Regions from separate parts of the Homo sapiens genome. Here region 1 is linked to region 2. Evidence: promoter capture Hi-C in human tissues and cell types (Jung and others, 2019). All regions are on one chromosome and are shown on one strand. The core of a region is centred on a gene start or on the middle of the fragment in contact, and the rest is flanking DNA. Distances in the headings are between cores, read along the strand shown. Region 1 overlaps IGDCC3 (immunoglobulin superfamily DCC subclass member 3). Region 2 holds the start of CILP (cartilage intermediate layer protein).

What was found. The method cuts DNA at HindIII sites, captures the fragments that hold promoters and counts their contacts. A contact is called where the count stands out against the background at its distance.
Region 1: a fragment that was not itself captured here is called in contact with the fragment with the promoter of CILP in region 2 in 1 of the 25 tissues and cell types used here (bladder).

Annotation. Positions count from the first base shown.
Region 1 is chr15:65,362,751-65,367,583 of GRCh38, reverse strand. The region is part of intron 2 of IGDCC3 (immunoglobulin superfamily DCC subclass member 3); the gene reads left to right. Among named protein-coding and RNA genes, the nearest start is that of IGDCC3, 13 kb to the left of the region's middle. RefSeq lists enhancers at 1-205, 3,662-4,527. The HindIII fragment of the contact is 5,574 bases long and covers 1-4,833 here.
Region 2 is chr15:65,210,008-65,214,679 of GRCh38, reverse strand. CILP (cartilage intermediate layer protein) reads left to right here and starts at 3,207. Exons shown (of 9, transcript NM_003613.4): 1 at 3,207-3,252. RefSeq lists an enhancer at 1,677-2,578. The HindIII fragment of the contact is 7,172 bases long and covers 1-4,672 here.

The DNA.
Region 1 (4,833 bases), core at 1,490-3,989, 150 kb before region 2:
CCCTCCAGGAGTCTGGGCCATAGTTTTCCTTTTTATTTTATTTTATTTTATTATTATTATACTTTTAAGTTTTAGGGTACATGTGCACAATGTGCAGGTTAGTTACATATGTATACATGTGTCATGCTGGTGTGCTGCACCCATTAACTCGTCATTTAGCATTAGGTATATCTCCTAAAGCTATCCCTCCCCCCTCTCCCCATTCCTTTTTCTTTTCTTTTTTTTTTTTTTTTTTTTGAGACAAAGTCTCACTCTGTCTCCCAGGCTGGAGTGCAGTGGGGTGATCTTGGCTCACTGCAACCTCCGCCTCCTGGGGTTCAAGTGATTCTCCTGCCTCAGCCTCTCTAATAGCTGAGATTACAGGCATGCACCACCACACCTGGCTAATTTTTTTGTATTTTTAGTAGAGACGGGGTTTCACCATGTTGGCCAGGCTGATCTGAAACGTCTATCCTCAAGCGATCCACCTACCTCGGCCTCCCAAAGTGCTGGGATTACAGGCGTGAGCCACCGCACCCGGCCTGGGCCATAGTTTTCTTATTCAATGGGTGGCTGCCCAAAATCTAGCTGCACTCTGGCAAGCCTGCTGGCCTGCACTGCACCATCCCCACAAAAGAACCTCTCCCTGATTTCTGAGCTTGCTCTCCCTGCCCCCAACTTTGTTCACCCTCTTTTAAGAAATGCCTCTGTGGCTGCCCTCAGATGTAAGGAGAGCAGAAGAGAGGGCTTTCTGTGGGCACCTGGACTCACGATAGATGTTGAGACCCAGTGAAGGTGGGAAGCTGGGGGCTGAGCAGAGAGGCCTGAAGAGTGGCAAGCCGGGGGAGCTGCTGGCAGACCCCCAGACTGCAGGGAGATGCAGGGGCCGGGGTGGGCTTAATGCAGGCAAGCCGGTGGGGGGCCAGGACTGGCTCACCTGACTCAGGCAGGAAGGAAATGTGATGCAAAGGGCTGGTGCCCTAGGGGCTCCACCCGCCCTTCTCTCTCTCTTCTCTGGGTCTTGATGTCCATGCTCCTTGGTCTTTGACACTCCCCACCCCCTGCTGCCCCCTCTGCCTTCCTGTGAGGCCACATTTCATATATTGGTCTTTCATATCCCTCAGTCCTAGTTTCTCCTGCCTTGTCCTCCCAAGCTTCTTCCTTTCTCCAGCTCCTCCTCCCTCCTTCTCTTTCTTTATTGTTCTATCCTTCTTCCTGCCTCTTTCTTTTTCTTTAGAGATAGGATCTCACTCTGCTGCCCAGGCTGGAGTGCAGTGGAGTGATCTTGGCCTTGAAATCCTGGGCTCAAGAGATCCTCCAACCTCAGCCTCCTGAGTAGCTGGGACTACAGGCATGTGTCACCTCATCCAGCTAGTTTTTTTTTTTTTTTTTTTTTTGAGACAATGTCTGTCTCTTTTGCCCAGGCTGGAGTGCAGTGGCTCAATCTCGGCTCACTGCAACCTCCACCTCCCGGGTTCAAATGAGTCTCCTGCCTCAGCCTCCCGAGTAGCTGGGACTACAGGCGCCTGCCACCACGCCCAGCCAATTTTTGTATTTTTAGTGGATACTGGGTTTCACCATGTTGGTCAGGCTGGTCTCGAACTCCTGACCTCAAGTGGTCCACCCGTCTCAGCCTCCCAAAGTGCTGGGATTACAGGCATGAGCCACTGCACCCGGCCAAATTTTTAAAATTTTTTGTAGAGATGAGGGTCTCACTATGTTGCCAAGGCTGGTCCAAATTCCTGGCCTCAAGCCATCCTCCCACCTTGGCCTCCCAAAGTGCTGGGATTACAGGTGTGAACCACTGTGCCCGGCCTGCCTCTTTCTTCAGTTTTGTGAGAGTTCCTGTGTTTACCATCTTCTGCCTTGTCTAGAGTGGGATTTCTGTTTCAGAAGCAGAAGTAGGTGAGCTCGGGCCTCTGCAGAGACTAAGGAGAGAGACTGGGAAGATAAGGTTCAAAGAGGGCAACAAAGGATGGGGTCCATAGCCCCCCAGCAAGTCAGGGGCTCTCTGGGGGCAGACCTTTCCTGAAAGGAATCTGAGAACCCTGGGCCCAACCCTGGTTGGGGCCTGTCTCTGAGCCTGGACACTGACACTGACACTGACCACAGTGGGTGGTGGGGGCAGCCCTGGGCTGCTCTCTGGAATGCTGGTGTTAGGTTGCAGTGCAGATGCAGGCAGTGATAATGGGCAGGAACTGGACTTTCTGGTCTGGCTGCTGCCCCCAAGGCCATTGGAATGTGAGGGTGGGGGTACTATCAAGAGGCCACAGGGTCCTGGGGTGGGAAGATGGAGACCAGACCACCTGAATGGAGGAGGGGACAGACCACCGTGAGAGAGACACAAGTTCTAGCCCTTTCATTGAGTCGCAGGCTGCAGCAATAGAATCCTGAAATTCCCAACCCCCTTAGGTCCTTAGGGGTCTTCCCGGTCTCCTGGTAGGATTAGAGCTTCGGGAAAAACCTTGGTGCTCATCTAGCCCAGCTTTCTCATTTTACAGACTTGGAAACCGAAGCCCCAGGTGAGTGACCTGCCCAAGGACATGGCTGGTCCTCCAGTCTGGGCAGGTAAGGGAGTCTCTGGTTTATCAGGCTTCTGAACCCTGGCCTTCCCCAGTGCCTCACTCTTCACTGCCCTCTGGTTCAGAAAGGAGGAGTCTTATATGGTCCTCCCCTAGGAAACACTGGCGTGCATGTTCTATTTTTCTTTTTCTTTTCTTTTTTGAGACAGGGTCTCACTCTGTCACCCAGGCTGGAGTTCAGTGGTGCGATCTTGGCTCAGGGCAGCCTCAACTTCCTGGGCTCAAGCAGTCTTCCCATCTCAGCCTCCCAAAAAGCTGGGACTACAAGCACACAATACCACGCCGGGCTAATTTTTGTATTTTGGTAGAGATTAGGTTCCACCACGTTTTTCAGGCTGGCCTCAAACTCCTCAAGCAATCCTCCCACCTCACCCTCCCAAAGTGCTGGGATTACAGGTGTGAGCCACTGCCCCGGCCCCTCTGTTTTTCTTTCGTGCTGCTCTGGTTTATCTGTGGGTGTGGGCTTGTTAAGCCTTGGATGTGGGCTCCTGACCTCCATGGCAGATTGCAGAGGGTCTCTGAGTTTCCAAAGCACCCTGGAGGCTGAGCTCAGCAGGTGTGAGGGCTACCTATGTGCTGGTTCTTGTAGAGAACTAGTTAGTAACAGTAAATGTGGTCAGAGTAATATGGGGCTGCACTGTTCTAGGCCCTTTGTGTGCTAATTTATTTAATTCCCACAATTCCATTAATAGGAATTACTAGCCCTGTTTTACAGATGAGTAAACGAAATCCCAGAATGATTAATTAAATTGGCCGAGGGTACACAGTAAGTGGGGAAGCTGGGATTTCAACCCAGTTCTGCCTGACCCAAAAAATTCACTGGCCTGAATGTCTCTAGCAGGGGCTCACACCCCTGGAGAACCTATCAGTATTTATGCCTCAGAAATAAAAGCAGATACCTGGAGGCATGTAATGTGAGAGTAGGGGAGTGTAGAGAACAGAGGACAGCTTAGAACCCTGGCCAAGGTGGGAGCCACTTCTGGGTGGGCCAGGCAGGATTACATACTCCATGACCCAGCTGCTGCTGGGACATCCCAGTTACAGGAGGCTCTGTGTAGACAAGTCTTGCTCTACCTGTGAGGCGGGCAAGAGCTGGCTGGGAATGGGTTCCTGAGTGAAGAGGAAGCTGGGAGGTGGCTGGGGCTGCTGGAGGTAGAGGTGGGAGTTGCTTCTTCCTGAGGAGGAAAGACAAATTCCCCCCTCCTCTTTGCTCCCTTTCCCTTTCTTGTTTCCGCATAATGATGCTGATTGCTCCACATCTGTCATAATTACTCTTTGTTTGAAAATTCAGAACAAATCACAGGAGAGGAACTGGAATGGCTTGAGAAGGCTCCTTCTCCCCAGGGGTCCTGGCAGGAGGCGGGTGGCGGGGGTGGGCAGCAGGGAGAAGCCATAATCATCCTGGAGGAGCTGAGACAGCTGATTGTCCTTGTCCTGTCCCCTTGCCTGGGCAATAGCCACAGCCCCCAGGGAAGGTGGCCTACAGCCTTGTGGAATTACACGCCCACGGGGCCGACTCTGGGGCTGGGCAAGCATTGGGTCTCTGGAGTGACAGCCAAGAATAGGGGACCACTGCTTCCAGGGAGCACCAAACCACACCCTCTTGGGGGTCCAGCAGGCGGCCCTGGATGCTCAGTGCTACACACTCGCTCCCCAGCCTGACTTCTGGTGAGGGTTCTGGTTCCCATCCCCATCCTGAAGGCCCTTGGTTTTGGGGGCTCATCATTCCCGGAATATGAGCCCAGGTTTGTGACCCTGTCTGCCATGAGCATCCTTTTATGTTTCCCTCCCAACCTAACCCCTTTCCACCTGTGGGCTTTTGTGGGGCGAAATCAAAGACAACCTAGAATTTACCCCCAAACCAGCTGGGGGTGGTGGCTCACGCCTGTAATCCCAGCACTTTGGGAGGCTGAGGCGGGCAGATCACCTGAGGTCAGGAGTTCCAGACCAGACCAGCCAACATGGTGAAACCCCATCTCTACTAAAAATACAAAAATTAGCCGGGTGTGGTGGCTTGGCAAGCACCTGTAATCCCAGCTACTCGGGAGGCTGAGACAGGAGAATCGCTGGAACCCGGGAGGCGGAGGCTGCAGTGAGCTGAGATGGGGCCACTGCACTCCAGCCTGGGTGACAGAGCGAGACTCTGTCTAAAAAAAAAAAAAAAAAAAAAAAAAAATCCCCAAACCTCGCTGGTAATAAAACCCCATGTATTCTCACCCCGACAGGACCGTTGGTGGGTCTGACACCTCATGTTGCTGGACCCAGTGCAAGA
Region 2 (4,672 bases), core at 1,958-4,457:
AGACAGGAAAGGACTCTGATGGGAGTATGGGAGGAGGCAAGATATGAGACAGGTGGACGGAAATGGCATGGTGGAATTGGAACGCAGCCCTCAACCCTGTACTTACCATATTAACACGCACTGGCCACTTGGGGCTAGGTAAGTGAGGGCCTCAGTGTGAGTGCTGGGCTGAATGAGGAGACCCAGGCAGGAATCCTGGCCTAAAACACTCCACTTTGCCCAATCCTCACCCATAGGGTACCCTGCCTCCCACTACAGAAAGAGATGGAGGTGACTGGGAGGCTGGGGAGGCGTCTCTTACCCACCCTGGCATTCCACAGAATGAAGGCCTTGGAGAGCAGCTGATTACCCTGACCTTGCCCTCTGGTTTACCTCCCACTACCTTCCTTTCCTGTGTATCTCTCTTGCTGTCCTTATCCAGCCTTGGTGGTCATATCTGCTTCTCTGGACTTCCTCCTGACCTTGACTCCACACTGGCTCCTCTGACTTCTGCCAGACACGTAGGAGCAGTCGTTCCCTCCACTCTCTCCTCCCAGCTCTGTTTGCTGTCAGTACAGATGGTCCCCAACTTAGGATGATTCAAGTTACAATTTTCCGACTTTATGATGTGCAAATGTGACACAAATTCAGTAGAAACTGTACTTTCCTGTACAACCATTGTGTTTTTCACTTTCAGTACAGTATTCAATGTATCACATGAGATAATCAATACTTTATGGTAAAATAGGCTTTTTGTTAGATGGTTTCGTACAACTGTAGGCTACTGTAGGCTAATGTAAGTGTTCTGAACATATTTAAGGTAGGCTAGGCTAAGTTCTGATGTTCAGTAGGTTAGGTGCATTAAGCGTATTTTTTTTACTTATGATATTTTCAACTTACAGTGGGTTTATTGGGACATTACTATAAGCCAAAGAGCATCTGTATATCTCAAACCTTGCAATCTCAGAGCTGGCAGGGGCCTGCAAACTCACTCAGTCCATCTCCCGTTGCACACCTGAGGCCCAGGGTTACTTGGGTTCTTGCTAGTTCACGGTCGCATATCAGAATCAGAAACAGCCAGGACTAGGCTTCTGAATTCCAAATTTCAATTTTTCTCCTGTCCTTTGATCTGGGGATTGTGGCTCAGCCTGTCTGTCTGTCTATTCCTTAGGCCATCAGATTTCACATGGGGTTCACTCAGTTCAGACGTCTGCAGTCAAAGCCATGGCTGAAACTGAGTCATGGCTTGGCTCTGACAAGTTGGACCAGACTAGGGCCAACTACAGGGCTTATGAACCAAGGGCTGGTGGCCAGGAGGGAGACGGGGCTCCAGGAGATAAAGCAAATCAGATCTATGCCCCAGGTCTACTTGGGAACCATGCTGCTCAACATCCTTTCTCCACCCCCACTCTCTTCCCCAGCAGATTTTTTTTTTTTTTTTTTTAGACCAAGTCTCACTCTGTCACCCAGGCTGGAGTGCAGTGGCACGATCTCAACTCACTGCATCCTCTGCCTCCTGGGTTCAAGCCACTCTCCTGCCTCAGTCTCCCAAGTAGCTGGGATTACAGGCACACTCCACCATGCCTGGCTAGTTTTTCTATTTTTAGTAGAGATGGGTTTCACTATGTTGACCAGGCTGGTCTTGAACTCCTGACCTCAAGTGATCCACCCGCCCCTGTCTCCCACAGTGTTGGGATTACAGGCGTGAGCCACTCCACCCAGCCTCCCAGTATATCTTGTCAAAGGCAATGCTCAGAAAAAACAGCTCTTACGCACACATACACACACACACACAGAAAGACACATACACACAGGAAAAGGCATAAACACACACACACAGAACTCTCTGGCATGTGGGTATGCACTGTTGTACTACGGGATCATTTCCACGTGAGGCTCTTTCCTCTGAGTGCAAGGATACATCTCTTTTCTTGTGCCTTCCCAGTGCCCAGTCTAGAGCCTGGGAATAAGAGCTCGGTAAAGGTATGTGGAGAGAGTGAGCTGACCCTGGCGTGGATGGCCACAGGACCAGGCCTCCATCTCCAGTTGCTGGCATGAGGCAGGAAGCCCAGCCCAGGCTAGATGAGCCTGCTACATGGGGCAGGACCTGGGAAGCTCCCACTGTGGTCCTTAGTACACTCGCTCTTCATCTTCTTCCTTCAACTGGGGCTCTATCACTGTGACCAGTCAATCTCAAAATGTGATCCATGAACCAACAGCATCAATCTCATCTGGGAACTTGTTAGAATGCAAAGTCTCAGGCCCCACTGAATCAGAAACTCTGGGTGTGGGGTCCAGAAATCTGCTTTAACCGCCCTCCAGGTGATTCTAACACATGCTAAAATTAGAGAACCAGTGTCTGTGCAAACAGATAACCTCATGCTGGGGCCAGGGGGCCGGGAGTGGGGGTGTGAAGCCCCAGAGCACATGCAGCTGCATACGCCCCCTATGGGTAACACTGGCTGTTCACATGCTGGTGGATGCCTATACCTGAAGGCAGACACGTACTCACACGCATGCACATATATGAGCATCAGGGTCTCAGAAGAGTCCACATGCTGGAGCTCTGGGGTCTCAGTGGGTACCAGCAGGCACTCAGATGGAAGTGGGGGGGAGAAAGGAAGAACTGTTCTCACCAGCTGACAACCTATGCCCCACAATTCTTTTGTCCCTTATCCCTTCTGAGGTTCCCTGAGTGTTCCCTCAGAAGCCAGAGAAGCTGAGTAGTTGCCCAACTCAGACCAGACACACCCAGCTGAGAGGCCAAGGTGGCCTGTGTGCCTAAGAGTGTTTGGAGTATGTGCTAAGACCAGCAAAGTCTTTTCTCTGTGTGGGCGAGCCAGGGCCAGGGGAATGTGGGGCATCAGCAAGCTAGGCTTAGGCAAGAGCACACCATCCCCCGGGCCATGAAATGCTGCCCAGATCTAGAATTCCCCGTGGCCCCTTCCCAGGGCTGTTTCTAGTGCCCAGCCCACCTCCTGACCCCTCTCTCTGCTCTGGACTGTGATGCCCCAGGCCACTGCCCACCTGGCCCATCACCAGGTCCTGCGGCATCTCCTCCTTAGGATCTGGACATAAAATCCTGGCCTCTGTGAACTGCAAGGGGACATGGGGAGGGGAGAGGGAGGCTCATGCTCAGATCTGGTTTCGCTGCTGCTTCCTCTGGCTGGCTGCCACAGGCTGAGCCACCAGCTGTGCTATATAAGGCCGGCACTGGACTGCTGGAGAGGCGAAGGCTTGGACCCCCAGCTGAGGAGTCCTGCTCAAGACACGGTGAGCTCCACTCCTATTCCCCTCACCCCATCCCTGCACCCCACTGCTGGACTCAACTGCTCCTGCCCTCCCCTGACTACTCCATTCCCTTCTCCCCACTTCCCCCCACTTTTTGCTGCCTGATCCTTCATCTCCCACAGAGAAGACTCCCTTTCTGCTTTGGGAATCTGCTTTCCCCCATTGGCCCAAAGTCCTCTCCCTCCCCCACCTGAGGACAGGAACCCCCAGATGGTCCCACTTAGGGTTTCCATACCTCTGGGTGCCCTGCTTTATTCCCTGCGGTCAGCCAGTCTGCTTTGTCCAAGTGTTCTGAGGAGCGTGGGATGGCAAGCCTAACCATCAGGGCATATGCTGAGGAAACGGCGGAGATGCTGAGAAACCTCTGTGGGCTGCCAGATGGGAAATGGTTTTTCCACAAGGTGTCTCAGGCCACCTCAGCCTCCAGACATCCCTGGAGCAGGCTCAGGCTCAGGCTGAATGCAGTGCAGGCCAGCAGACTGCTCAGCTCCCTGCTTGGAGCCCAGAGGGATACACACAATGTGGAGGCCTTTGGGACGTCCTGGTGACTCTGCTCCCTCATCCGAGAAACAGGTAGTGGTGGGGCCAGTGGTTTTAGAGCTAGAAGGTCTGCAGCATGGGACTGGTTTTTTCTTCCCCTGGAATATCCCAGTGTTTTCAGATATGTGTATTTTTTAGAGAGGAGGACTCTTCCCTTTCCTACCACACCCTGGACTTAGGATGTTGAAGGGAACCACTTTTGAATCCCCAGAAACGAGTCAGATTCTGGGTTGGCCGGAGCTCTGGGGAGACATAAAAATGTTCTGCTCAGCTGCGGCCTGGGCCACGCACGCCCCATAGTTCCTTGCCCTTGTCCCAGGCCTGCTTTCCTCTCCTGACCCTTGCAGTTCCTCACCCACGCTCAGCAGTTACTGGGGAGCCCTGGCCTCTCACAATGCATCCCCTCTGCTTTCCGTCAGCTGGCTCCTGGCTGTGTAACTCCCAGTCAGGCCCCAAACAAAAAGGCCAGAAATGTGTTCCAGCTGCAGCCCGTGCACATCTGGGAATGTGTTCATGGAGGTGGTATGTCCGAGGCATCTGCACCCTCCAGCCAGCCTGCCTTATGAGAGGCCACTGGAGTCGGAGCCAAGTCTTCACGGCCTTAATATGTACCCGCCTGTGTGAGAGTGTGAACTCCATCAAAGGATGGCAAAACAAATGCCCCTCAGGCCTGGGTTTTAGAAGTGACGAGTCACCAAGAGGCTGCTGGGGGTGAGCCCTGGACTCTCCTCATTGCAAGGAACCTCCTCGCCCCTGCTTGTCCTTGTGCCTCATCTCCATGTGGGGCCCTGGAGCCTACCCCCAGGGATGGAACCTAGTCTGCCTCATTTGAACTCAGATTCTGAGCCTCTGCACCTCCCAA